4 separate regions of the Homo sapiens genome follow, and all the other regions are linked to region 2. The links are contacts of gene promoters, found by promoter capture Hi-C in blood cells and fetal thymus (Javierre and others, 2016). All regions are on one chromosome and are shown on one strand. Each heading gives the region's core, a stretch centred on a gene start or on the middle of the fragment in contact. The rest is flanking DNA. Distances are from core to core; before and after follow the strand shown. Region 1 holds the start of DENND1A (DENN domain containing 1A). Region 2 holds the start of PSMB7 (proteasome 20S subunit beta 7). Region 3 has its middle 110 kb from the start of LHX2. Region 4 overlaps ARPC5L (actin related protein 2/3 complex subunit 5 like).

What was found. The method cuts DNA at HindIII sites, captures the fragments that hold promoters and counts their contacts. A CHiCAGO score of 5 or more calls a contact.
Region 1: the fragment with the promoter of DENND1A here is called in contact with the fragment with the promoter of PSMB7 in region 2 in 9 of 17 cell types (non-activated CD4 T cells, total CD4 T cells, activated CD4 T cells and 6 more); the score reaches 14.9 in non-activated CD4 T cells.
Region 3: a fragment that was not itself captured here is called in contact with the fragment with the promoter of PSMB7 in region 2 in 2 of 17 cell types (naive B cells and endothelial precursors); the score reaches 6.3 in naive B cells.
Region 4: a contact is called between a fragment that was not itself captured here and the fragment with the promoter of PSMB7 in region 2, in 1 of 17 cell types (neutrophils). The highest score is 5.4, in neutrophils.

The regions. Positions count from the first base shown.
Region 1 is chr9:123,925,517-123,932,357 of GRCh38, forward strand. DENND1A (DENN domain containing 1A) reads right to left here and starts at 4,610. Exons shown (of 24, transcript NM_001352964.2): 1 at 4,373-4,610. The coding sequence starts at 4,389. RefSeq lists enhancers at 2,367-2,416, 3,467-3,546, 3,482-4,167, 3,797-3,996 and a silencer at 4,347-4,836. The HindIII fragment of the contact is 11,751 bases long and covers 1-6,577 here.
Region 2 is chr9:124,413,014-124,420,165 of GRCh38, forward strand. It overlaps PSMB7 (proteasome 20S subunit beta 7), which reads right to left and starts at 2,429. Exons shown (of 8, transcript NM_002799.4): 1 at 2,351-2,429; 2 at 1,829-1,922; 3 at 895-992. The coding sequence starts at 2,412. RefSeq lists an enhancer at 2,336-2,385. The HindIII fragment of the contact is 2,900 bases long and covers 1,878-4,777 here.
Region 3 is chr9:124,121,532-124,129,245 of GRCh38, forward strand. No RefSeq gene overlaps it. Among named protein-coding and RNA genes, the nearest start is that of LHX2, 110 kb to the left of the region's middle. RefSeq lists an enhancer at 1,428-1,587. The HindIII fragment of the contact is 3,993 bases long and covers 1,656-5,648 here.
Region 4 is chr9:124,870,424-124,877,168 of GRCh38, forward strand. ARPC5L (actin related protein 2/3 complex subunit 5 like) reads left to right here. Exons shown (of 6, transcript NM_030978.3): 4 at 3,269-3,341; 5 at 4,552-4,728; 6 at 6,455-6,745. The coding sequence ends at 6,517. Among named protein-coding and RNA genes, the nearest start is that of ARPC5L, 12 kb to the left of the region's middle. RefSeq lists enhancers at 423-472, 2,111-2,611, 2,309-2,538. The HindIII fragment of the contact is 4,718 bases long and covers 2,722-6,745 here.

The DNA of each region.
Region 1 (6,841 bases), core at 3,360-5,859, 490 kb before region 2:
GGAAGGGATTGTTTTTGTTTTACATTTGTGTCCACTACTTTAGAAAGCCTTAAAGAAAAATATTTGTTCATCTTTGTGTCCCCAGTACTTAGCACACTGCCAGGCACAGTATTGCCACTAATTATGATAATAATGGCTAACATTTATTGTTTAATATGTGCTTAATCTTCTTAGTTCTACAGTAGGTAAATGGATGAATAAATGGATAAATTTCTTGGTCACTAACCTCACAGAGGTCACAGTTTGACAGGGACAGAAGACAGGTATACAGGCTAATGTAGAATAATCACCACCACAAGGCCAAATTAGTTGCCCTGCCCTGTTCCTATGCCTCAAGTCTTAGAGTATGCTTTTCTCTGAGTCCATAAATGTCACGTTTCTTCAAACTCACTTAGAAAACTTCCTTCGATTACTTACAGCCCACTTCCTGCACTTGGTGCCTGGAAGCAATTTCTAGGATGTCACCACAAGCAATATTAAACTGCCACATAGTTTCCTGCTGTGTGTCTGCATTATCAGTTAAATTGCTTCATATTAACCACATTCCAGTCCACTGGGATCATTCAAACACTAAATAAGATTTAAAAATACCTGTTGAAGATTGTCAGTTACCACTGCTCCTTTTATTCTTCTAGATAAATGTCCATACAGATGTAACATTTAGGTTTCCAGGGTGCTACCTGCATACTGGTGACCTTCTCTTTTTTTGTCCATTAAATGTTGATTTGAGGCAAGACAATGTTCCTTTATTAAAATAAACATGAGGCTGGGCACGGTGGCTCACATCACACCTGTAATCCCAGCACTTTGGGAGGCCAAGGCAGGCAGATCACCTGAGGCTGGGAGTTCAAGACCAGCCTGACCAACACGGGAGAAACCCGTCTCTACCAAATAAAGAAAATTAGCCAGGCATGGTGTCTCATGCATGTAATCCCAACTACTGGGGAAGCTGAGGCAGGAGAATCGCTTGAACCCGGGGGTTGGAGGTTGCCATGAGCCAAGATCATGCCATTGCACTCCAGCCTGGGCAACAAGAGCAAAACTCCATCTCAAAAAAAAAAAAAAAAAAAAGAACTAAATAATCTAGTAAAAGGCCTGCGTAAACCATATAATTTGCCTTAGAAATTTATAAAATATAAAACTTTTCTTCCTCAAGGGTTTTTTTTTTAACTCGATAAACACTCAACTCGGTCTTAATTAGAATCTTAATATAGATCCTAATGTATTTCTTAAATGCGTTCCATGAACTCTTCTCAAACAACCATGTGCCAGGCATTGAGTCTGACACAGGGAACTCAAAGATAAATAAGACAGTCCTTCCTCTCAAGAAGTTTATGTCCAGCATGGTACGGGACACAGACAAGAAACGAGATTCAGTATTGTGACTGCAATAAACACAAGGGGCCACAGAAACACGGATGAAGGGCACCTGGCCTAGACTGGAACAGGAGGGGGTGGGGGTGGCAACAGGAAACTGGCATCAAGGCAGGCGTCTGGGGGATGGCATCTGATCTTAGGCCTATAAACTCCCATTCTCTCATTTGAAAAATGTGGTTAATAAATAGCATCGCCACCACTGGACAGTAGTGAGGGTTTCATGAAATGGTTCACATTAAGGATTTCCACGGTACCTGACAGAGATTGTGTTCAACCAGGCTTAAACTTAAAAGAGAAGTCTGATCAAACACGAAATCTCAACACCTGTGCCTAGCAACTCACGTGCTTTACCACTGATCACACAACAGACACCAGCTTCACAATTACACACAATATTGTTTTAAATCAACTTTTATTTTTTAATAATGAGACAATGTTAAGCCCTACTCTGCATGTTAACAGCCTAATTCCTTGGTCATTAAAATTTTCTTCTCCATTACCTTAAACATACCTTTCTCTGACATTTCTAATATACAGTAATGTTCTTAGTCTTTTGATACAGAAGGTGAAAAAAAAGAAAAAAACCTAACAATTACTGAGTTTTTAACATGGACCTGACATTTACATTGATACTGTGTTCAATGCTCATAATAACCCTACAACCTGGACACAGTCCTCCCCATTTTACCTTCAGGGAAACTGAGGTTGAAAAGGCAGTCTGTGTAAAGTTTCATAATTAGCATTAAAAAGAGCTGGAATTTGAACCTAGACCTGATTCCACCTAGTCAACTGACTTGCTGCATCAGAGATAAGCAAGAGAAAACAAAAGGAACCCCTCCCCCTTGTCCCTACCTCCAAGACTGTCCTATTCAATGGAACCTGCACACTTAGATTTCACCACAGCCAGGAGAACATCTTGAATGCCCTGCCAGGAGGGAAAGCCAGCCAGTAGTAACCAAAGCTCTGTCTTCTCCAACAACTAGAGGAGCACTTAAGTGGGTAATTTCCTGTCCATCCCCATTCCTAGCTACAGGCAGAAGTTGCATAATCAACAGTCACTATAAATCACAACTACTTTTCATAACTTCTCTCTTCATATTCTCTTTCGGTTTCACCACAAGCTAACATATTTCCCAAGCCTAAGTTTTTATCACAGAGTAGTCTAGTTTCAAGATCAATAAGGCTATTCTTCATACTCATTTCACGCTTAATACAATTCCATGCCTTAGTAAATTCCCTAACCCAAGTGCTCAGAATTAGCGATGGGTTCCACAAAACACATTTGAGAAATGTATTTGTCAACCTGCTACCTTGGAGAGCAACAGAGAGATTTGATGGCTAGCCATCTGAACTTTTACTTGCTGGATTTTAATACTGGTTCTGACACTCACTGCTTCATGTCAGGCAAGTTTCTGAACTTTTCTGTAACAAGAAGGGTAAGTGTCCTCACGCATACTCTGCAACTCTAAGTTGGCTTCTGGAAAGTGTTTCTAAGTGCTATTGAAATCCAAGTTTACAACTCTTACTTGGAAGCAGGAGCTAAACTTGAGTGCCTCTTTAATCCCAATGTTTCACAAACGACATCTTTTTACCTCCCAAGCCTCTCAAGCTCTTGTTTGGAGCATGCTTCTAACTTTTTTCTCATTTCCACAAAAATAAAGATTTAACAGAGTGTTCATGCGACTCTTCCATTTTCATTACCATAAGCAAACTTTTCTAGTTTCATTCAGCAGATGTCTCAAGGCTGCTGCAGCGCATCTCATACATATTTTGTAAATGAGAAGCCTAACCACACGGGGGACTGCAAGGCTGGGCAAGGGTCACACTGCACGGGCATCACCTGGACATGAGATGCAATGTTTGAATAATTATTAGTTTCACCCTTAAGGCCCTTCTCCTTTCAAACTTCCCTAGTACAATTCTCAAAATGCTGAAATAAACACATTCCACAAACTTTCTTGTAAGAGGGTTTAAAGTGTCCTAGGAAAGTTGTTTTACAGAAAAGCCTATGCTGTCAACTTTGCTTTTTAATGCCCTTAAACAATTCTATTAGTCACAGAGGAAAAAGTGAACATTTGTTAGTAATTAGAGATAAAACATCTCCAGTTCTGGGGCAGAGGAAGGGAGAGGCCACAAGAGGACCTGGCTGGGAGGGGAGATAGAGTCGAAAGCCACACACCCAAATTGGACCGCTTAAGAGTTGCACTTTCCAAAGTCAACTTCTAAGTCTACAAGGACAGCAACAATGTTTCAGTGGATTCTGAAGTTACATGTATCAACAATTTCCCCGGAAAGCTAACCCTCCACCGGGAACTCCAGGTGAATGAATGAGTGAGGGAATTCGCCAGATTGAGTTACAAAGCCTTTCCAACGATTATCAAGAGCAGGTGCTCGGTTACAACACAGAGGTATCCTCCTTCACAGCCTTTGGACCTTGCTGCGTGGAGATTTTCACAGATAAGAGGGGGGAAATAGAGAGACAGGCCTTCCTCCCCGGCCATCCACACCTTAGGTGGCCACACCATGAGCGGCCCCTCCCTCTAAGAACCTCACGCGACTTCTGTGGGGGCCGCAGGCCTCAAGCGGCCAGGCTGCAACCTCTCCGGACCTGCCAACTTTCAGGGGCGCCCCAAACATGCCCAAACATGGGGAGGTGCTTCCGGGGCTTTCCCACTCCCCTTCCCCACAGTTGAAGGACCATTTTCAGGGGCTCTCCGTAAACCCGGGGAGGGGGCCGCCCTGTAATCTCAGCTGTTCCGACCCCCAGGTGAGGAGGGGACACCTGACCCCCGGCGCCCTGCCACCCCGCGCGCACCCCGCCCCCGCGCCTCCCTGGATCGCCATAGCAACCGTCCCCCTCCCCGCGTGCCGGCGTCACGCGGGGCGCCCCTCTGGTCTCGGCAACAAGTCCCCCGCGCGGCCCGCGGCCTGCAGCCCTGGCCCGGCCTCGCCGCCCCGCGCCCGGCCCGGCTCCGCCCGGCCCGGCCGCACTCACTTGATCCTGGAGCCCATGGTCCCCAGGCCTCCTCATGGGCCCGCGGGCCCCGCTCGGCGCTGCGCTGCCCGCCCGCCCGCGGCCGACCGGCCTCCCTCTGGCGCTCTCCCCGCCCCTTCCTCCCTTCCCTCAGGCTGGGGCCCGCCCGCTCGAGGCTCGCTCCCTCGCCGCCGCCGCCGCCTCCAGGGGTTAATGTACTCGCTCCAGCCCGGCGAACGCCATGGTCGCCGGCGCGCGTGCCCGGCGCGCGCCGCCCCCTCCGCCTCTCACCACCGCCCCTCCCGCCCGCGCTGCCGCCGCCGCTGCCCGCTGGGGCTGCTGGGAAGTGTAGTCCGCTCGCGGGGGCGGGGCCGTGGCCGGTGGGGGCGGGGCGGGAGCGCGGTCACCCGCACGTCTCCCAGGGCGCGGGCCCCGGAGGACTCTGGCGTTCCGTTGCAGGCCCTTACACATCTGCACCCCACTGCGCCCCGCTGGAAACCTCCACTCACAGCCGCCCTGAAGAGACCCTAATCCTCTCATGGAGACCCCAAGCCCTCCCGATGAAACCGCCACCAATCCTCCCATTGGAGGCCTCCCACCCAGCCTCTCTAACGGAGAGCTAATCCCCCGCCCAGGCCTCCATGAAAACACGTTTTCCCTTTAACATCCCGCACCTTCCAGTAAGTTCCGTGCAGAACCTCTTCTCCATCACACCGTCCACTTCCCCATCTGAAGGCCTTTCCTCTTCCTTTCCCCTTAGAGCTTGAAGGAGACCCCACATACCTACAGGAAAGCCACCTGGGGGCTTCGTGGACCCACGTGGTGGCTCAGCTCTGCCCTCCCGCTGAGGACCTCTGCCTCCCTTTATCAGCCGTTTTGGGAACTCCAACATCGAAGCCTCCTGTTAACACAACAGTCCCTGATAGAGATTAACTCAATGCAAATGAAAGGATTTGAGAGCCGAGATCACCAGCCTGCTACCTACCCCTGCTCCCCCTTGGGATTCACTTCCATGAACACCTCAATTTCATCCCCTCTAGGGCCAGAGGGATCATAAAGGAAGCAATAATCACAGCTACCATTAGCCACCCTTTAATGAGCGGGTGAGTGCCCTTTCTGCATCAGACACAGTATTTCCGTACATCATTAGTGCCAATCCTCACAATAATCCTGTGTTCATCTCCCTAATTTACAAAGAGGAAACTGAGCCACATTCCCAAGGTCACATAACTAGCAACGAGTGAAGAAGCCAAGATTAGTGTCCAGACTGAATCATTCCAGACACCTGTGACATAGTCATGCTTTAAGGTGGCACCTTTGGCCACAAGTCCAAAGACATTTTTAATATTAGGCTTTTTTTCCTTTTTTTTTTTTTTTTTCCAATTTTCTGTCCCGAAATGCCATTCATCACTTCTGCCATTTTAGTTCTTATAAATGCATGGAGTGCCTCCCCACCCTACCCCCACCCCATAGCCTCTACGTAACTGGTCCTGCGTCCTAGCTCCCGGCCAGGATGGGAGGAAAGAAAGCCAGAAGATAAGTCGTAGAAGACTTCTTCTGTTGGAGTCACCTTCTGAATAAAGATAGTTTCTCCCTTTTGCCTCTGCCTTTAGGTTGTTGAAGTCAAAGGGTAAACTTTTTAAAATGAAAACCAAAAAAAAAGTGAAAATGTCCAAACTGTCATTTTGAATTTAAAGTCTTATGCACCCAGACACCAATACCGACTTGTAAACACCCCCAGGAGCAAAGCTCTGCTAGACAGGCAGGAGCTCTGTGGTGTTTATTCACCTATGAAACTTCTCCAAGGAACAGTTGCTATCAAGATCTTCCCTGGAATGGGAGCCAGTTCAAAAGCTCTGAGCAGGAGACTATAAATAAAACAAAGTTATTGGTGGAGGGCAAAGCTGGCTGCTTTTCAAAGGAGGTTGTAGCCATCCTGGCCACAAATATGTCTGGGTGCCTGCTGGGTGGGGTGTGTGTGTGTGTGTGTGTGTGTGTGTGTGTGTGTGTGTGTGTTGGAGAGGGAGGTAGAAGGTGGGGATTATGTGTCTGCTCAGGTGGCCTCAGAGACAGCAGGGTGGTCTGAGGAGAGAGCACTGGACTGGGAGTTAGGAACGTGGCTTCTAATTCTGGCTTCAGCATTGACTGGCAGATTTTATGCAAATGATTAGACAAGTGTATGTTTTAGTTTCCTCCCCCGTAAAATGGGCAGAGAGAGTGATGAGAAGCTTCCATCATAAGAGCGAGTGTAACATAGGAGCAAAGAGCACAGGCTCTAGAACCAGACTGCCAGGGTTTAAATCTCAGCTCTACCTCTTACTAAATATATGGCCTTGGGTGAATTATTCCTTCTCTGTGTGTCTCAGGTTCTCTGTCTGTAAAATGGAAATGGTGATAATAATAGACCTATTTTAGTGAGTTGACACGAGGATTAAGTGAGTTAGTGACATTTATAAAGTATTTAAACAGTGATTATCACATATTAAGTAC
Region 2 (7,152 bases), core at 1,179-3,678:
ATCATTAAGAAAAGGTTTCAGGCTGGGCATGATGGCTCATGCCTGTAATCCCAGCACTATGTGAGACCCAGGCGGGAGGATCACTTGAGGCCAGAAGATCAAGATCAGCCAGGGCAACATAGTGTGACCGCATCTCTCCCAAAAAAAAAAAAAAAAAAAAAAGAACGAAAAAAATGTTTAAAAAAAGGAAAAGGTTATATATGAGCTGGAATAAAAACACTCTACAAGCAGAGAAGGCAGAGTTTCTAAATAGAATCTCACATAAGCAACGGTAGAATAGCTTGGAGATGAGGGAAATAGGGACAGTTCAGACGTAACTGGAGCACAGGGTGATGGCAACTGAAAAAGACGCTTGAAGGGTAGGCTTTCTATGAGACTGTGCAAGGCCACAGAATTTTGATTTTTATCCTAAAAGCCATGTGGAAATGTGACAAGTCTCTTGAAAAGCTTTTTAAGAAAGGGATGCCATCAGATCTATGTTTTACAAAATCCAGTATGGCAGAAGAGTGAACAATAGGATGCCTAAGAGAGGCCAATTAAATGGTAACTGCAATAGTCCAGCTAAGAAAAAAGAACCTCTATGGTTCAAGTTAATGTTTGAAAAAAAGAAAAAGAAAAAAGAACCCAAACTAGAGCCTTAGCAAAGGAAAGGATAGGAGGGAATGGATTCAAGAGGCACAGAGAGGGCAAAACTGGCCACCAATTCAATTGGAGACTGAAGCAAAGAGAGGACTTGAAGTTACTGGCTTAGGTAACAGGTGGCTGGAAATGCCATTTAAGGGAGACAGAAAATACAGGTTGAAAAACAGGTTTTAGTAAGGAGCACAGGAAGGTCAATTTTTAGCCCTGACATGTTTGAAAATATAAGAGTTATTCAAACGAATCAATACTTACTAAATATTAGGAGATATGAAGTGTATTTTTGAACAGTTCTTGTCAGCAACAACCATCCCTTCAGTTGCTCTTGTATCTGCTCCAAGAACTATGCCATCCTATTAAAAAAAAAAGTTTTTAAACAATTTTACAAATATAAGCCAACCGCAACTCTCTATTCTACTTTAGGGAATACTATGTTGGCCATACCACATGCTCCCCTAATCTCAAAACGCCAGCCAAAACTCATAGCAAAAATATTGTGCTACACTTTCAGGATTTAAGAAAAGGTTTCTTAGTAAATGCTACTAATTGAATCCTGAGTAGGTAAGAATTATTCCCATTTTCAAGTGAGGCTCAGGTGTCGGGTAAATTCCTTGTAAATCAGAGCTAATCTGGAAAAAACCTGGATTAAGACTCAGGAATCTTTCCATTAAATTAGCCATCACTATCAATTTCCTTTTAAAACATGTTGCTTTTCTTTAAAACATGTTGCACAGGTAATCATTATCCCTTTTGACGTTTCCAACAATTTAAGGCAGGAGTTATCTCCATTTGATGCATCTGAAGGTGTCCCTGTGAGAAGGAAAGTGAGCTGCCAGAAGTTGGAATCAGCACTATAGAGTTCAAAGGTGAGACAGACCTGTCTGACCCCAAATCTCGTGATCTCCCATCACATACTTCAGCTTCCTAAACTAGTAATTAAGAAGCTAACTGACCTGTTTAAAAAAAAAAAAAAGAAAGAAAGAAAAAACCTCAGCAAAGTGAGGAAAGAACATAAACTGTTAAGAAGCACACAAAACCTGACAAAAGCAGTCGCTCCTGAAAGACGGTCTCCTGATGTATTCTATAGCATTTGCCTTTCCAGACCGAGCCGGGAGAGACACCGGAAGCCAAGTGTTCTGATTCCTGTTGCCGGTTCAGTCACTGCTGCTCTTAGCCTAACCCGGCTTACCTTATAGACCACCCCAGCGATGGTCGTGCCAGTTTTCCGGACCTTTGGAAGCTTGTATCCCCTCTTTGCAAAATCGGCTTCCAAGACGGCATTCCTAAGAGCAAATGAGAGAATCAAGTGTTGAAGGGCAGGACCACATCGCACAGCACTGGCATGAAAAGTGCCTAACAGAGAACTCAGGAAAGCTGCTACTTGTTTTCACGCCCATCTGTTTAATGAATCCTCCCACCATCAGCACTGTTCTCCCGTTTTCCAACGAAGACAGTCTTACAAAGGGGCCGTGACGTGCCTTAGGAGACGGAGATAAACGGTGGCCGAGTGCGCTGGGAAGGTGGGAGAGCAGACCCGGCTTCAGGAGAAACCCACGCCCAGGCCCTGATTCCCCTGAGTCACACTAGCCGCGGGCCACAGGCCCCGCCATGAATTCTTCCCTCAGAATTCTCGTATCACACCTTGGCCCAGCTCCCACCCGAGCACCGCACTCTTCTCCCTCCCTGAACCAAGCCCCAAGCAAGGCGGCACCTGCGGCAGTTATCAAAAGAGAAGCCTCCAACTGGTGGAGCATACACCGACACAGCCGCCATCTTCCCAAGAAAGCAGTTCCGGGTCGGAGGCGGGTGCAAACAAAAAGAGCCGAGCACTTCCGGCGTCGCTGGCAACGGGGGCTGAAGGGGCGGGGCAAACGCCGCACTAGAACGATTGATCTTAGAGATTCTGGTTCCTAGAGAGGCCAGAGATGTTTGAAGTATATCGCCCCAAGTGGCACGGAGGAGAAAGTGACACCCGGAACCGGGAAAGGACTTGTCCAAGGTGAACGCACCAGCGACCAGGTCTCCTGCCGCTCAGACTGGACTTGTTTCTACCGTTAATTTGGTTCTGCGGTGCTTCAGAGACAGACAGACCCAAGTCCCAGGCACAGCCCCACCACCCCCTTGCGTTAAGCAAGTCTCTTCAACTCTCTGAATCTGTTTCCTCCGCTATCAGATGGAGATTACAACCTAGCTCAAAAGGCTGCTGTAGAATGGCCATTAAGTCTGTGAAAAGAGGCTCAACATGATTAGTCATAGGGTGAATGCAAAGCACGACCACAGTGAGATCCCACTTCGCACCCGCTAGGATGGCCATAAACAAAAAGACAGAAAAGCGCAAGGGTTGCGAGAGTGTGGAGAAATTGGAACCCGAATACACGGCTGGTGAGAATGCAAAACGGTGCGGCTGCTCCGGAAAACAATTTGGCAGTTCCCCAAAAAGTATTATCCTCTTAGATACGCACCCGAGAGGGTTGAAGACATGTATTCACAAAAACTTCTACAAAGGTGAGGTAGAAGGCAGGCCTCCATTCAGAGATGGGGCTGAGATACCTGACCAAATTGAGGACTAGCTAAAACAGGGCCTGGACGGAAGCTGTCTTCCCTAAGACTCGCTCACCAGCCAGCCAAGTCAGTTTACCGTTGCCATGGCAACACTCGTGAGTTACCGCCCCTTTCCATGGCAGTGGCACCATAAACCAAAAGTTACTACCCCTTCCCTAGAAATGCCTGCATAAACCACCCCTTAATCTGCATGTAATTAAAAGTGTGTATAAATATGACAGCAAAACTGCCCTGACACTCTGCCTAAGAGGGTAACCCTGCTCTGCAGGAGCAGTCATGGAGCTGTAACGCCGCCACTTCAATAAAGCCGTTTTCTTCTGCCTCTAACTTGCCCTTGAATTCTTTCTTGGGCAAAGCCAAGAACCCTTGTGGGCTCAGCCGCACTTTGGGGCTTACCTGCCCTGCGTCAAAAGGGGTCTCATTGGCTGGGCGCGGTGTCTCACGCCTGTAATCCCAGCACTTTGGGAGGCCGAGGTGGGCGGATCATGAGGTCAGGAGATTGAGACCATCCTGGCTAACACGGTGAAACTCCGTCTTTACTAAAAATACAAAAACTTAGCCAGACGTGGTGGTGGGCACCTGTAGTCCCAGCTAGTCAGGAGGCCGAGGCAGGAGAATAGCTCGAACCAGGGAGGCAGAAGTTGCAGTGAGCTGAGATCACGCCACTGCACTCCAGCCTGGGCAACAGAGCAGAGACTCCGTCTCAAAAAAAAAAGCGAGGGGGGGGTCTCATTATTCACAATAGCCAAATAATGGAAACAAATGTCCATCCACTGATGAATGGATAAACAAAATATGGTAAATTCATTTAATGGAATATTATTAGACCATAAAGAAGTCTGAAGCACAGATACATGTTACAACAGGGATGGACCTTAAAAATATACTGAGGGAAAGAAGCCAGGCACAAAAGGCCACATAGTGTATCATTCCATGTATGTGAAGTGTTCTTAATAGGCAAATCCACAGACAGAAAGTAGATGTTTGGTTGCTAAGGGTTAGGGGAGGAGGAGAGAATGGATAGGACTGTTTAGTGGGCGCAGAGTTTTTGGAAAATGATGAAAATATTCTGGAATTACATAGTGGTATTGGTTGCACGATATTATGAATACACTAAAAACCACTGAGTTGCACACTTTAAAATGGTTAAAATGGTGACTTCTACGTTAGGTGAATTTTATTTTATTTTATTTTATTTTATTTATTTATTTATTTTTTTGAGACTCGGTCTCCCTCTATCACCCAGGCTGGAGTGCAGTGGCATGATCTCAGCTCACTGCAACCTCCACCTCCTGGGTTCAAGTGATTCTCATGCCTCAGCCTCCCAAGTAGCTGGGATTACAGGCATATGCCACCACGCCTGACTAATTTTTGTATTTTTAGTAGAGACAGGGTTTCACCATGTTGGCCAGGCTGGTCTCGAACTCCAGACCTCAAGTGATCTGCCCACCTCAGCCTCCCAAAGTGCTGGGATTACAGGCATGAGCCACAATGCCTTGCCAGTGAATTTCATTTTAATAAGGCTATTGTGAGTATTAAACATTGTACATGAAGACCATCTATCTTAGCATGTAGAAGCTTCTTATAAATAGTTATTATTAATAATACATTCATTTCATCCTGTCAACAAACCTAAGAGATAATTATGTAATTCAACTCATTTTACTGAGGGAATTGAAGGCTCCTTTTACAGCCTGAATGACTGTGGAATGAATTAATTTATTCACTCAACAAATATTTATTGAGCTCCCATTATGCGTCAGACATGGTTCTAGGTGCAAATGAATGAATGAAGCACCTAGAACCAGTGTCTATCACAACTGTGTGTTTAATAAACATTTGTCAAAGGTTGAATTCCCTTTCGTTACCTCTGAGTTTTCCGTTGAAATTAGGGAAATAAATTCATATTCTGCAGTTCTAGCCCCTAGTAACTCAGTAGCTGACCTTACTTGGAAGTATTCCAAATGAATTGAATTTGATTTGATATTACAGAGGTAATCAAGTTAAAAATGAGGTCACTAGGCCCTAATCCAACAGGACTGGCGTCCTTATAAAAATTGGAAATTTGGGTCGGGCATGGTGTCTCACACCTGTAATCCCAACACTTTGGGAGGCCAAGGCAGGTGGATCACTTGAGATCAGGCGTTCAAGACCAGCCTAGCCAACATGGTGAAACCACGTCTCTACTAAAAATACAAAAATTAGCTGGGCATTGTGGTGGGCGCCTGTAATCCCAGCTACTCAAGAGGCTGAGGCAGGGGAATCACTCGAACCTGGGAGGAGGAGGTTGCAGTGAGCCAAAATCATGCCACTGCACTCCAACCTGGGCAACAGAGAAAGACTCTGTCTAAAAAAAAAAAAAAAAATTGGCAATTTGGAGACAGACATGCACACAGGGAGAACCCCATATGAAGATGAAGGTAGACACTGGAGTGATGATCCTATGGGCCAAGGAATGCCAAAAGTTGCCATCAAACCACCAGAAGCTAGGCGCCAGGTCTGGAACAGTCTGCCTCACGGCTCTCAGAAGAAGCAACTTTGCAGACACCTTGCTTTGGACTTGCACCCTCCAGAATGGTGAGACAATAAATTTCTGGTGTTTCAGCCACCCAGATTGTGGTACTTTGTTATAACAGAGCTAGGAAACTCAGACACCTCCTGAGCTCACAGTCCAGGGGAGGAGAGGAAGTCTCAGAAAAGAAAGACTCCCAGCGCTGTGTGCCAACTGCCAGGCGGGGGAAGCATGGGAATGCGAGTGGGGGGCACACACTCTAGGGAAGCCTAGAGGCTCAGACGGTGTGGAGCCCATCGGGACGACAAGGCAAGAGGGTCAGGCACGTGGGCGAAGGCTTGAGATGTGCCAAAAACAAAACCAAACCGAAAACCCTGGACATGGTTTTTAGGAAACAGTCGTGAGGCTTCTGCAGTGGTACCTGCAGCCTCCGGGGGGTGGTGGTGGGTGCCTGAGTCCCGCCGTAGGGTCTCAGTGGGAGCTAGGAAGCCAGGGCCCAGCCAGGCGTGGTGGCTCATGCCTGTAATCCCAGCACTTTGGGAGGCCCAGGCAGGCAGATCACTCGAGGTCAGGTGTTCAAGACTAGCGTGGCCAGCATGGTGAAACCCCGTCTCTACTAAAAATACAAAAGTTAGCTGGGTGTGGTGGCGCCCGCTTGTAATCTCAGCTACTTGGGAGGCTGAGGTGGGAGGATTGCTTGAACCTGGGAGGCGGAGGTTGCAGTGAGCTGAGATCACACCACTGCACTCCAGCCTGGGCAACAAAGCCAGAGTCTGTTTCAAAAAAAAAAAAAAAGAGAAGCCAGGGCCCCGGGCACAGCACAGAGAGCTAGGAAAGCCGTTGTAGAAATGATCTGTGACCTCGATTTGCTTGAGGGAACTTTCTCTTCCTACCTGGGTTTCTTTGGTATCTTTGATTTTTCACACCCAGACTGGGCTGAGGAGGGGACATTGTTTCCTCTTACAGCCTCTGGAGGTGGCCCCGCAGAGGCACTCAGAGCCCAGCAGAGGGCGACCAAGAGCCTCCAGGCGGCCTGGACATAAAGCAAGGGAGTCAGCCGGGCGGGGATGGGGGCAGCCGGGCAGGGATGGGGGCAGCCTCTGCACCTCCAGGCATGTGGAGGGCAACCCTAGATCCCTAGCACTCAGAGATCCCCACTCGGCCTCCCTGCCCAGCATGGCTGCTGCCCCCTGGGACTGCAGCCCAGCCCAGCTGGCCCTCCCCTGGGCCTGGACACAGTCCCACTTCATCCCTGGCAGTGCTACCAACCCCAACTCACCAGTGAAGCCACCACTTCTGCTGTGGATTTGGCTGGGTGACCTCAGGAGAGCCATCAGGCTCTCTGTGCCTCAGTTCCCAAATAACACAGTAACAACCAACAGTCCCTGAGAGCACTCAACATCCTGGGCTTGGACCCAGCCATTCTGTGTGCAGGATCT
Region 3 (7,714 bases), core at 2,402-4,901, 290 kb before region 2:
TTTGAAAAGTATTAATGTGGTTATAAAAATATTTTCTGAGTATGCAATAATGGGTCAGGGAACCAGCCATCTGCCTTGAAAAGATAGTCCAGAGCAAAGGGCAGTCATGCCTTGCTCACAAGTCATGCCAGAACGTGAGAGCTCTTAGTCTGTTCAAGCTGCCATAGCAAAGTGCCATAGACTGGGGGGCATAAACAACAGAACTTTATTTCTCACAATGCTGGAGGCTGTCAGTTCAAGGTCAAGGTGCCAGACAATTTGGTTGCTGGTGAGGGCTCTCTTCCTGGCTTGCAGATGGCCACCTTCTCACTGTGTCCTCACATGGTGGGAAGAGAGAATGAGAGAGAGATTGCTTCTTCTTCTCATAAGGCCGCCAATCTGGTTGGATTAGGGCCCCATCCTTCTGATCTCATTTAACCTTAATTACCTCCAGAAAGCCCTGCCTTCAAATACAGTCACACTGGGGGTTAGGACTCCAACATATGAATTTGGAGGGACATAATTAAATCTATAGCAAGCTTCATGGGGAATTGTGTTGCAACAGGGACTACCCAAGAAGGTGACCAATAATGGCCATCTTGAAGTCTGGCTACCACAGCCCATGTTTTGTGGCATCTTTGGATAATTTCTTTCTGATGCAAACAGCCTTGGAAGACAGGCAGAGTCTCTCCCTCTAGAGCCAAAAGCAGGCATGCTCACTGCCCATTAGAGAGGGCTTGGGCTTCCTAAACTCGGGGTTCCTCTCCTGTGACACAGTCCACTGTGTGTTCCCAGGATTTCTGGGGCTCTTCATGTTGATATGTGGGAATTTAGGCTTGGAAACCAATGAGAAAATGCTGATACTCTGGCTGCTGCTATTGCTGTGAGTCATGACCTGTCCTTTGTGTCAGACCCTGGAGCCTCATGTCTTCTACCAGCATCCATGAAGCTGTGGCAGGCTAACTTGTTAGCTTGCAAGTAGGGTAAAATCTCACACCCTAGACAGTGCTTGACAGTCCTCTGTTGCACTGAGTCAGGGTTCACCCTTGTGGCCAGAATATGGCAGAAGTGATGTTATGTAACCTCAAGACTATGTCATCAGGATAACGTAGCTTCTGTCTGGTTCTCTTAGGATGCTCACTCTTGGATCCCAGATACCATGCTGTGAGGAAGCTCAAGTTGCTCTATGGAGAGGCCCCCATAGAGAGGAGATGATAGCCCATGCTAGCTTGCCGGAAATATGAGGAGCCAACTTAAAATGGATCCTCCAGCCCAGTCCAACCTGCAGATCATTTGCAGCCCTGCTGACATCTTACTAAAATCTCAGGAGCAACTCCGCCAGAACTGCCCAGCCAATTCCCCCTCACCAAATTCCCAACTCAGAGGAATCAGGAGAGATATTACATGATGACTGCTGTTTGAAGCCATTACATTTTGGGTTGATTTATTATGAGGGTTGATTATTAACACATGGGACTCTTGGCTCAGCACCCCCCTAGTAGCAGTGGCAGCCAGCAGAGGGAGACTCGAAGCTTTCCTGTGTTGTTCAGAGGAAATATGGATGACTAAATTTTGGTATATCTATACTCTGGTATACTGTAGCACTATTAAAAAAAAATGAAGTAGGCCAGTCACAGTGGCTCACACCCATAATCCCAGCACTTTGGGAGACTTGAAGCTTTCCTGTGTCGTGTAGAGGCAGTGGTAAGAGCCAGGGCCACTGTGAGGCAAGAGAGGGTGACTTCAGGCCAGAGGGAATCTGGGTGGGGCTTTTGGGCTATGGCCTGGATGGAGGATGAGAAATTACAGTAGCCTCAGCCTTCAGTCTGAACACTTGTAGGGCACATGGCAACCAGGGAGAGGGACACAGTCCCAGAGGCCAGAGAAGGCAGATGGTGACTCTGAGCCTATGGCCCCAACTCTCCCTCCCCCACACAAGGCCACTGATATGTTTTGGCTGTGTCCCTACTCAAATCTCATCTTGAATTATAGTTCTCATAATCCCCAAGTGTCATGGGAGGGAGCCGGTGGAAAGTAATGGAATCATGGTGGTGATGGTTTATAAATGGCTTTTACTCTCTTCACTCAGCTCTCATTCTCTCTCCTGCCACCCTGTGAAGAGGTGTCTTCCACCATGATTGTAAGTTTCCTGAGGCCTCCCAGCCATGTAGAACTGTGAGTCAATTAAATCTCTTTTCTTTATAAATTACCCAGTCTTGGGTATTTCTTCATAGCAGCATAAGAATGGACTAATACAGCCACCTAAGCCACACTTCCCCTTAAGCATCCAGGCACAACCACTGGAGAGAAGCGAGACAAGGGAGCTATCTGGGGAGATCAGGAACTACAAGAAGGACCAGTTTAGATGATTGGACTGGACAAATGGAATCCACACATAGGGGAAAGTGTCCTATTGTTCCCACTGGCCAATGGTTGTGGGGCTCAAGAAGACAAAATAAAGAAACAACATTTATCCACATTTCCAAGTTGTAATGTGAATAACATTTGTGATCTTGCGAGCTACACACACACACACACACACACACACACAAACACATGCACATGTAAATAGAAAACATCTGAAAGGATCTATGATCAATTGATAACAGTGATTACTCCTAGAGAGAGATTTTTTACTCTATTGGTTTTGTTTTTATTTTTAAAAATGTATTTATCTCTCTTTTTTTGCTAAAAGCATTGAAGGGGGAGAGAGAAGAAGAAAGTATCAGGTGGTGGAGGAATACGTCTGAAAATGATCGTTGGGTAGGCAGGTCTGGGTTAGGAATCCTGGATCCACAACTTACCTGCTGTGTGTTGGAGGGCAAGTTAATAAATCCCTCTGAGCCTCAGTTTCCCCATCTATACAATGGGGGATGGCAATAGGACCTCCTTCCTAGGACAACGGTAAATATTCAGTGAAATAACCCATGTAAAGCATTCAGATCAGCACCTGACACGAAGTCAATGTTAACTTTTGTGTATAACAAATCCTATCATCAGCATGTTTTGCTTTTGTTCATTATTTTGAAAGATTAGAAATTCAGAAAAATCAAGAGAATAGTATAATAATCACACATAATCATTCCACCTAGATTCACAGCAAATATACAGGCATGTGTTCTCCCTTTTAAAAATGAACCAAACATTACAGATCAAGCTGCAGCCCTCCCAGCCACCCCCGGGCTCCCCTCTGGCCTCCTTTCTCCTGGGCAGGTCCCAGCAGGAGTGTCATGCATTTGCTTTTGCTCCAGTCATTCTCCCAAGTGCAGCTCCCGTGCTGGGTGGTTGGAGGCCTTATACCCTGAACCCGATGATGCAGAGAGGGACGCCTAGAGACACAGGTGGCAGGTGAGCAGCAGGCGAGGCAGGAGGAGCCATCCAAGGGAGGGCCCCATGAGCTGCCCCACAGAAGGGGAGGTGAGAAGAGGGCCGGAAGCTGTTCCAGGCGCCTGATGGGCTCTGAGATCTGCCAGTTTCCTGACAATGGTTTAGTCATGATCACCTGCACACAGTCCCAGGGCCACTTGCAATGTCACCTGCACAGTTAGCCCCACCTCCCAGTGTCACCAATACAGTCACAGAGTCACATAGAATGTTCCCTGTACCATCAGCCCCATCACCCCATGTCAATCCAACACATACAACGTCACCTGCCCATTAGCGAGTCTCACTATGCACAGCCAACACTCACTCATGCTGTCACCTGCACAGCCACGCAGTCACTCACGACCTCACCTGCTCACGCCCAGTCCCATCGCAGTGTCACAGGCACAGTCATGCAATTTCCACAGCAGCGTCCACACAGTCCCTCATGGTGTTGCCTGCACACAGCCACGCAGTGTCCCAGGCACAGTCACACACAATCCCACAGAGTCACCTGCCTGCAACCAGCCACGCACAGTCATTTGCCGTCCCATGCTTGCCGCCCCCAGCCTTGCCAGGGGGTCTGACATCACAAACAGTGTCACAGGCAGACCCCTCCCCTGCAGAGCCCTGCCCACAGACCCCACTGCCCACCATGTGCCCGCCGGTCAGCCTGGGCTGGGGCTGCCCTGGTCAGAGGCCTGGGCCTGCCTTTGCCCTCAAGCTGGCTCTTCAGGAGCAGCTTGGGTTCCACTTGAGCCCCAAGGATGATACTGGAGCCGGGGGCCTGCTGCTGCTGGAAGCAGAGCCAACGCAAAGAAAAGCCTTTGTTCTTGGTGGGTCGGTCATTAAGAGGAGCCCGAATCCCTCTGCCAGCCCCTCCCCTCCAACAAAGGAACAAAACAGCAGCTATTTTTAGACTCGTGTCAAACTCCCCCTCAGACCCTGGGTGGGGAGTCCCGGTAGAGGGGCGTCTGCGAGGGCTCTAATGAGCCTGCGGCCGGCAGGTCCTGCTCTCCAGGCAGCTGGCCCTTGGCTCTGCCGGGGGAGAAGCGAGCCCAGGATACTCCAGAGACAAAGAGGAGGGCCAGACAATGAGAACAATGCCCGGAGCCCCAGGATGCCCACTTCCAGAGAGCAACCCCCACTCTTTGGAAGGAGGTCTCCCTGGACACAGGGCAAGGGCATCAGGACACCCCCTACCTTGTGTAATCCTCCAGGCACCTCACTGGCTCCGTGTCCCAGAGGAGGCAAGTGACTTGCTTGGAGGGGCAGGTGATTTCTGCTACATGAACCTTGTGTGATGGGATACTCTGGATGGCCCAGATCCAAGTCTGATGGTCCAGATCCCAGCTCTGCCCCTTACACTTGTGTGGCCTCAGGCCTCAGTTCCCCCACCTGTAAAATGGAGATGAGGCCAGTCACGGTGGCTCACACCTGTAATCCCAGCACTTTGGGAGGCCGAGGTGGGCGGATCAACTGAGGTCAGGAGTTTGAGATCAGCCTGGGTAACATGGTGAAACCCCGTCTCTACTAAAAATACGAAAATTATCTGGGCATGGTGGCGCGCACCTGTAATCCCAGCTACTCAGGAGGCTAAGGCAGGAGAATTGCTTGAACCTGGGAGAGAGAGGTTGCAGTGAGCCAAGATCGCACCACTGCTCTCCAGCCTGGGCAATAGAGTGAGACTCAGTCTCAAAAAATAAAATAATATAAATAAATAAAATGGAGATGATAATTCTCGCCTCCACAGTTGCTTTGAAGAGTCTGGGGGATAAGACCTGGGCACATAGCAGGTCCTCAGCCAGTCCGAGAGCCCTGGATTGTGTGGGCTCCTTGCCAAGCAAGGGCTTTGTCTTGTTCAAAGCTGGATCCAAGGGCCCAACGCACTGCCGGGCACATAGTAGGTTCTCAATAAATATTTGCTCAAGAGGTTAATGAAGGGTCCTTACCAGCCTTCAGCCCTACAGGCTTGACCCAACTTAAGCCACTTTCTTCCCAAGCGCTGCTCCCCAGCCTCCTCTTGGAAAGAAACTTGCTGGCTAGGGTGGAGCCCTCGTCTGCAGGTGAGAAGCTGCCTCCCCAGGCTGGAAGTCCCATGCTGCAATGACAGCGTTCTGACACCAGGGGGCGCAGTCTCTTAAGGTTTCCACAGCAGCCTGGGTCCTTCCCGCGGGGGCCTGGAGGGCTGGAGAGGATGCGGCCCACCCGGTGGGGCACCTGCCCACCCTCGTTAGCGGAGATCTACGGGGTCGTTCTAAAACTCTATGGAGCAGCAGCATTACAACCAAGTCATCATCCCTCAAAGCTTAGAAAGAAGCACTTCTTCAGGTCTCGCCTCCTCCACTGACTTTAAGCCACTTTCTAGTGCCCTGTCCTCAAAGACTATCTATGGTGACCCCCTTGCTCCCCAATTCTTGCCCGACCAGACTTCAAGATTCCTTGTTCTGTCATCCTTCTGTTCCCCCAGCTGGGGAAGCCCAGACCATCAGAGCCGGAAGGGTCTTCCTAGTTGATCTCATGGTCTTCCAGCCCATTCTACAGATGGGAACACTGAGGCCCACAGAACAGAACTGCATCCTCCAGGCTGAACAGCAAGGAGGAAGCAGCCAAGACCCATGCCCAGGCTCTCTTTTTCAGCTGGCGCCATTTTGCTCATGGATTGTTTCACTGTTGTTCTAGGGAAAGGGAGAATGGGGAAAAAGGAGGGAAGAGAAGGGGAAAAAGGGAAGGGAAAAGGGAAAAAGGAGGAAGAAAGATCCTGAGCCTTCTTATTCTGTTCCAGACCCTAGGCGTTCCTCTTCACCCTCGGCATTTCCCTGAGTCCTCTACAAACCCTTGAAAAACAACCCATGATTATCTCCATTGATGGATGAGGAAAGTGAGGCCGGGTGAGGTTGCCCCAAGTTTCACAGCTAACAAATAACAGTACCAGTATTTGCCCCAGGGCCATCTGATTCCCAAATTGTATATGGTTCAACCTAATACAGCAGAAAGAAATTCCCACATTCTTTCTGCTGTATTAGGTTGAACTGCATAAAATTGCTGTTCCCATGGCCAGGCATGGTGGCTCAAGCCTGTAATCCCAGCACTTTGGGAGACCAAGGCAGGTGGATCACTTGAGGTCAGGAGTTCAAGACCAGCCTGGCCAACATGGTGAAACCCTGGCTCTACTAAAAATTAGCCAGGCGTGGTGGCACGTGCCTGTAATCCCAGCTACTTGGGAGGCTGAGGCAGGAGAATCGCTTGAACCTGGGGAGGGGGAGGCTGCAGTGAGCTGAGACCACCCCACTGCACTCCAGCCTGGGTGACAGAGTGAGACTCCATCTCAAAAAAAAGTAAAAAATAAAATAAAATAAAATTGCTGTTCCTGTAGGTCGAAATTTTTCAAATATCTGGTATGCTTAAACTCAACACTATGCCAAGGGAAACCCTTATCCTGAAGGTAAGAGCCATTTACTAGAATACTCTGGTGGCAGTGGGGGAGGGGAAAACCTATTTCTTTAGGTGCAAAACACCCTGGGGAGACTGCTATTCCCTCCACCCCACCCCCAAAGCCCAGATCAAGATCCTGGAGTGGCTGCCTGACTCTAGAGGCCCAAGTTCAAGAACTTCTGACCACAGAGGGGTCACACAGCATGGGCAGGAGGAGCTTTAGGGTGAAAAGTCCTTGGGTGGGAATGTGACTTCTCCAGTGATGCCAGGGAGGACCCTTGGAAGAGAGATGAATCTACATAGTATAAACTTAGAATGTCACAGAATGCCACAGAATATCATGACTAGAATGCCACAGAGTGCTATAGAATGTCCAGGAATGTCGTAAAATGCTCTGGAATGTCAAAGAATGTCACGGGGTATTCTGAATTCTTGTAAATGTCAACGGATGTCATAGAATGCTGCAGATCATTGTAAATGTCATGGAATGTCAAGGACCACCTTCCGAAGACAACGTCATCAGACAGTGCTGCAGATAGCTGTAAATGTCATGGAATGACTTAGAACATCATCATGCTAGACCGTTGTCGGGTGTTACAGAATGTCAGCACCACAGAATGTCACGGAAACTTTGAGACAGCCGGAAAGGACTTTGGTGATCATCCAGGTTCACCTGCTCATTTTGCAGATGGGAAAACTGAGGTCCGGAGAGAGAAAGGGCCTTGTCTAGTGAAGCTCAAGCAGATGGTCGTTGGCAAATGCAGATTCAAAATCTGGGTCTCTGGACTCTCCACCCAGAGCAGCCTCCCTCGGCTCAAGGCTCTTGGGGACTAATTAACCCTGTGATGGAAACAATGGTGCCTAGTGGGTATTAAGCAAAACTCCCAGTTCTGACTGGCACTAGCCTTAAGTCAGAATGGGGAATTAACTCCACATG
Region 4 (6,745 bases), core at 3,831-6,330, 460 kb after region 2:
GCAGGGTTGGAGGCCCATGCTGTACATAAATCAGGTTCTCGGTGTTGAACCAGTTGACTCAGCTTGGAAAGTGGGGCCTGCTGCTTTAGGGGGAGCCCGGCAGTGCTCCTGAGTGTGCCTTTAAACCGAAAACCTTCAGACTTGATTTGAACAGGAATGTGTTTTCCGAAGTGGAGATTCAAGCTTGTAATTCCTGCCCCATCAGGATCTCCCAATCCACCCTCCTTATGAAATGGGGTCAAGGGAAGGGTCCCCAGGAGGGAAGGTTGGTTGTAGTCTGGTGTAGGGCCTAGTTCATGGACAGTCAGTGCTGAAAGGGGCTCCAGGGTCAGGCCTTTGGCCCAGGACTCTCATTGAACAGATGAGATCAAGCCTGTCAGCTGCTGCCTTGGTCTGGGTGCAGAACCTTGTTGAAGGTCATGTCTTGGGACTCCCCTGCCTGGTGACAGGTTCCTTGAGGCTGCTTAGAGGCCTGGGCTTAGCACATCCAGGGGATGGTCGTTTCTCCATTCATGGCAGCGTCAGAAGCGTCAGAAACCTTGTTACCATGGAGAGTGCTCCACTTGGGGTTGGGGAAAGGGAGGTTAACGGATAAAGGTAACTGAAACCCTGGCAAATACGGGGCCCAGGTGGAGGAGAATGGAACTGATATTTATTGAGTCTCTATCATGTACCAAGAATCGGACTTATATTAGACCATTGAGGACAGGGGAGCAGGGAGAGGGATAGATGGATTGGGGTTGGGGAGGGCAGAGAGGGGCCCTGTCCTGGGGCTGTATAGGGAAGTGTGTGTGGCAGGAGATGACACAGATGGAGTAGAAGGAACCCGGCTGTGCATCTGCGCACACCCTGCACTACCATGCTCTGGCTCTGTGACCTCGGATAGGTCGCATACCCTTTCACAACTCAGCATCTTCTGTTACGTGGCGGACAGCCATGCTGGCTTCCTAGATTCCGTGGGAGCCTCATGGGCTAACATCAGCATCACTGGGCACACAGCAAGTGTCCTGGACATGCAGCTCGGGTCTGCAGATAGAGCGGCAGCATGGGATTGTGGGAGGAGCTTGGGTGTGAGGGCCGTGTAGACAGCTTAGTTTTGTGACCTTGCGCAGGTAATTTCTGTTCTCTGAGCCTCAATTCCATTGCCTTTAAAATGAGATAATGATTATTGTCACAAGGATTTTTGGAATGAGATGGCGTGTGAAAGCACCTGGCACAGGATCCGAGACCTTGTGGCGATTTAAAAGTATGAGTTCCTTTCCCCTTCAGTGAAGCAGCTTCTATACTTCTGGATCAGGGCTCTGTCCAGAGCAGTGGTTGTGAGCGATTTTGCACCCTTCCCCTCCACCCCCAGGAAACTGGAGACATTTTGATGGTTACAGCTTGGGGATGCCACTGGAATCCAGTGGGCAGAGGCCTATGACACACAGCTAAGATCCCACGTCAGAGAATCCTGGGTCCACAGTGTCAGTTGTGCCGTGATTGAGGAAGATCTAGAGGAGATCAAGGGCTGGGCAGGATTCCCTCAGCACCACAGCCTGTTCTCTGAAAAGGCCTAAAGCCAGCCAAGTATGACAGCCGGCTTCACAAATGATAGGTGACTTCAGGGAGGTCCTCCCTGCGCCCCACATCTCCCAACTGCTGAAGGCCCTCACCCATCAATGGGCCGAGTGATTGCTGGACGCGTGGTGCTGAGTTAACGCCACAGCAGTAGCTTTTTGCCCCCGTGGACTAGTTTTATACCTGCCCTTCCCCATCCATCATTTGAATGATGTCATTTGTTAGTTGTGCCAGGTTTACATGAAGAGCAAGTGAGCCTATGTTTTCTGTTCAGCCTATGGGATCCTGCTTATTGCTTTGGGGACACCACATTAGAAAAGAGTTACAAGGGCTGGGCGCGGTGGCTCACACCTGTAATCCCAGCACTTTGGGGAGGCCGAGGCGGACAGATCACGAGGTCAGGAGATCGAGACCATCCTGGCTAACACAGTGAAACCCCGCCTCTACTAAAAATACAAAAAAAATTAGCTGGGCGTGCTGGCGGGCGCCTGTCGTCCCAGCTACTCAGGAGGCTGAGGCAGGAGAATGGCATGAACCTGGGAGGCGGAGCTTGCAGTGAGGCAATATTGCGCCACTGCACTCCAGCCTGGGCGACAGAGCGAGACTCCGTCTCAAAAAAAAAAAGGAGTTACAAAGTAGAGGTTATCAGTGGCTGATATCAGGCTGGCCTTGTTTGGATGGGGAAAAGGAACTCCAGAACTGAAAGACAGAGGGACTGGACTGCCTCTTGAGTGTGGAAGGTGGATCAGAGCCAAGCAGGGAGCTGGGGAACCAGCGCTGGGAGTGGCTTGCCTGGTGGCGCAGACCCAGCTCACTCAAGATGGATCTCATACTGGGGAAGCCAGGAGATTCAGCTCTGCTCCGAAGGCCCTTCCTGTCTGCACGTGGGTATCACTGCATGAAGAGGAGTAGAGACCCGATTGGGCAGAAGCCATTCCTTGTTCTATTTTTGAAGCTTTTTGGCTGAAGCCAGTGTTTCATACGAGGAAATGAAAGTTGGCTGATGTAATTCAGTTTAAAATAGGTGTCACCTTTGGGGACCTAACCCAGATTGTAATTTTCTTTTGCATGCTGGGTATTCAGAACTCAGCAAAGAATGTGTTGTCAGGATTGCAACTGAGGTTGGGGGGTAAGGGTGGAGACTGGCTCATTGTTGGCAAAAGCTTCTGTTAGATTGATAAACTCTTTCCAGGTAACAGTTGGGACCTCATTGATCCCGATAGATCTTAGAAGTTCTAGCACATCTTAATTTCCTTAATAGTTTAATTGATGAAGAGCATTGATGAAGAGTTAGGAGGTCTCCCTTTGTACCTACATTTTCCGCTTTTTTAGAATGAGAAGATGAGAACGACCTCCAGTTCACATGTACGGGTGCTGTGAGGATCCAGTAGGGGAGATACAGTGCTCAGCACCAAGCAGGTGCAAGTGAGCACAATCCAATTTTACATCAAGTTACCCCTCCAGGACAGTTGCTTTGACGTGGAAGGTAGAGAGGGAGTTGAAAGGAGGGTTTGCATGGTTGGCAGAGGTGCCCTGCAGCCTCCCTGTGCAGGCTGTAAACCGTCTCTGCCCCCCTGGAAGCCGTGGAAGGTGGGTGGTATGGATGAGATCCCATCTGACTCTGTTCCTGAGCTGTTTCTGAAGTGAGCTTGTTCATGACGGCATGGATGTGCTTGAGCCTAGCTATCCTTAACTGGTGGTGATGCACAGGGGACATGCTTCGGGCATTCCATGCAGCCTTGCGGAACTCTCCCGTCAACACCAAGAATCAAGCTGTGAAGGTAAAGGGGTGGCGCTGCGGCTCTGCTGGGTGCTGTTGGGACCAGGGCTGTGGGTGTCTGCCCAGTGCGAGTGTGAGCTTTCATCCACATCAGAGGGAGTGAGTTGGCACTGGGCGGGGCTTCCAGGGAAGCCTCCTGGCGCTCCCTAGGTGGTGAGGCTTCTCTGACATCAACGCTGTCAGCGTTTATATACGAGAACCTCCCCACAGAAGCCTTCACTCCTGCTCACGGCCTCGTAGGCTGAGAAGTCAGCCTGGCCCTGGCTGATGAGGAAAATGGATGAATTCGCTCACCTGTGGTGCTTATGCTCCCACAGACTGTTAAATAGGCTTTGTCTGCCTGAGGATTTTAAGTACCCGTACGCTTTCCTACCTTCTAAAAACTAAATTGTGCTTACTGCATCACCAAGTCTAAAATTTGGTTCAGAGAAAGGGGTCTCCCTGCAGCTGGGATTCTGGCAGCTGTGACAGCATCTTGATGTCACCAGTGGCTGCACCTTCACAGAGTTCTGGGGAATGGCCCCACCCTTCTGGGTGTGAACACAAGAGGGACGCTGCAGCCGAGTCAACCTGGTTTTATTTTTATTTTTTAATAGTCCACCACCATTGTGGAGTATAATAAGGCCTTATTGGTGTCATCTAAAATAGTGATGGGCTGGGTGCCATGGTTTATGCCTGTAATCCCAGCACTTTGGGAGGCAGGAGGATCGCTTGAGCTCAGGAGTTTGAGACCAGCCTGGGCAACATAGCGAGACTTTGTCTGTATTAAAAAATAAAAAAAATAATTAGCTGGGCATGGTGGCATGTGCCTGTAGCCCTAACTGAGGTGGGAGGATTGCTTGAGCCTGGGAGAGGCTGCAGTGAGCTGAGATTGCACCACTGCACTCTAGCTCAGGCAACAGAGCGAGACCCTGCCCCTCCCTCCCTCTCTCCCTCTTTTCTCTTCTCTCTCTCTCTCTCTCTCAGAGTTGATACTTGTCCTAGTAAACTACTTACTCCCCCAAAATAAGTAGGGTAACTTGTTGGCATAAATAAAAGATACTTTGAAATTTAAATCCACAAAAGACGTTCTAACCCACTTATTTTAACCATCCTGGACGAATTAGAAACTGGGCAGTGTTTCTGGTGATCTGTGTCCTTGCTTTGGTGTGGGGCATGGCATGGCGGTGCCTTCGCAGCTCTGGGACTCACTTGCTCTTTTTCGTCTGCAGGAGCGAGCCCAGGGCGTGGTGCTGAAAGTGCTCACAAACTTCAAGAGCAGTGAGATTGAGCAGGCTGTGCAGTCACTGGACAGAAACGGCGTTGACTTGTTAATGAAGTACATTTATAAAGGCTTTGAGAAGCCCACAGAAAATAGCAGCGCAGTGTTACTCCAGTGGCACGAAAAGGTATGTGAACGCTGCCACGCGCCCCAGTGAGCCACCTGGCTTGCCTTGGGGTTCGATCAGCAGGCCAGATTTTCCAGAACAAACGTAGGACGGTCTGATAGGCGTGTGGGGTCAGAGGACGAGCCCCAACCTGGGACATGTCATCACTTCCCTCTCCCAAGGAAGCTCCTGGTAGGGACCTGCTGTCTGTGGTAATTGCAGTTACTTTTTTGCTTTTTAGCTGCCGATTTATGTCAGGCAAGACAGGGTGCCCTTGGTACAGGACATGTGGGCAGATAACATGGCATAGTAAGGTGGTCAGGGAGTCTAGGTAGGAAGGGGGCCTGCTGGTTGGTTGGGGCTTCATGATACTTGCAGTGGTGGAGGCAGCTGTTGGGGGTTCTTAGAAATAGAGTCCTCCAGCCAGCTCTAAGGGCTTCCTGCCCTGGCCTCAGCCTTAGCAGGCCAGAGTGAGCAGTGGGCAGAAACCTTGACCTCACTTAATATGGCCTTCGTCCAGGTGAAGCAGAAAGAGCTGTGTCTGCCCTTCGCTTGGGTCCGTGTGAGAGCAAGGCCTTTGGCAAGCCTGTGTCGTGCCTGTACCACTGGGGCTGCCTCCCACACCCTCCCCTGCACACCCCTAGTGCCGCAGTAAGCACGCCCACCATTAAAGCAGACCAGGAGTTACTAACCTGCCTGCCTTCCTCAGAGGCTCAGTGTTGAGTTGGAAGAGAGGGGTTTTACAGTGGGCCAGTCCTTAAGGTGGTGTGGGTGCTGGGCTGTGGTTGTGGCCTTAGGTCTGCTGGCGGGTGTGCTGCACCTCCTTGGCCTCCCCTCTCCTGGGCTCAAGGAAGTAAACAAGTCCTCTGTATGATGGGGAGGCCAGGACCTCTCGTCCCTTTAAGGCAGCTTGGTGCCTGCCAGTCACCTCAGCGGGCGGCAGTCAGTGGGCTTGTGTGCATCTGTAAACTCAGCACTTTGGGAGGCTGAGGCAGGAGGATTGCTGGAGCCCAGGAGTTCAAGAACAGCCCAGGCAATGTAGTGAGAACCCATCTCTACAAAAAAATAAACTAGGCTGGGTGCGGTGGGCTCACGCCTGTAATCCCAGCATTTTGGGAGACGGAGGCAGGCGGATGACCTGAGGTCAGGAGCTCAAGACCAGCCTGGGCAACATGGTGAAACCCCGTCTCTACTAAAAATACAAAAATTAGCCGGGGGTGGTGGCGGGCGCCTGTAATCCCAGCTGCTCGGGAGGCTGAGGCAGGAGAAGCGCTTGAACTGGGGAGGCAGGGTTGCAGTGAGCCGAGATCGTGCCATTGCACTCCAGCCTGGGTGACAAGAGCGAAACTCCGTCTCAAAAAAAATAAATTAGCCGGGCCTGGTGGTGCACACCTGTGGTCCCAGCTACTCAGGAGGATGGCTTCAACCCAGGACATCAAGGCTGTGCAGTGAGCTGTGATCTGGGCAACAGAGTGAGACCCCATCTCAAAAGGGAAGCTCGAGGGCTCTGCTTTGTGTGCTGGTGACAGTGTTCTCAAGCCAGTTCTGCCCAAGAGCCAACAGCTCTCGGGACCCCACGGCTCCAGGACAGGGCTCCTTCCCTAGAATGTGCTCTATCTCAGGAATCCTCTTTCGAGGATCTGTGACGGGATCTAGGTCAGGGAATGTCCCCCCTGTCTCTGGCAAGCCAGGCTCCCCTTGGCCAGCCAGGTCTCATCTGACACGTTTTCTTTTCCTGCCCCCACAGGCCTTAGCAGTAGGAGGACTAGGCTCCATTATAAGAGTTCTTACAGCAAGAAAGACTGTTTAAAAAAAATAAAAAGACTCATGTTACCTTGAGAAGAATTCTGGATGCCCAGGCTGGTGAAGAAGGGATTGACAATGGACCATCTTCCTAGGAACTCCCAAGTAAACTATTTCAGGACATGTATCTGCTGAAATGTATTTTATTTTCAAGGTGGAGGGGAAAATCGTCTGTTTCCTAAATCCTGTTTAGGATCTGATAGTCTATGCCTTTGTCTCCGAGTACTGCAGAACT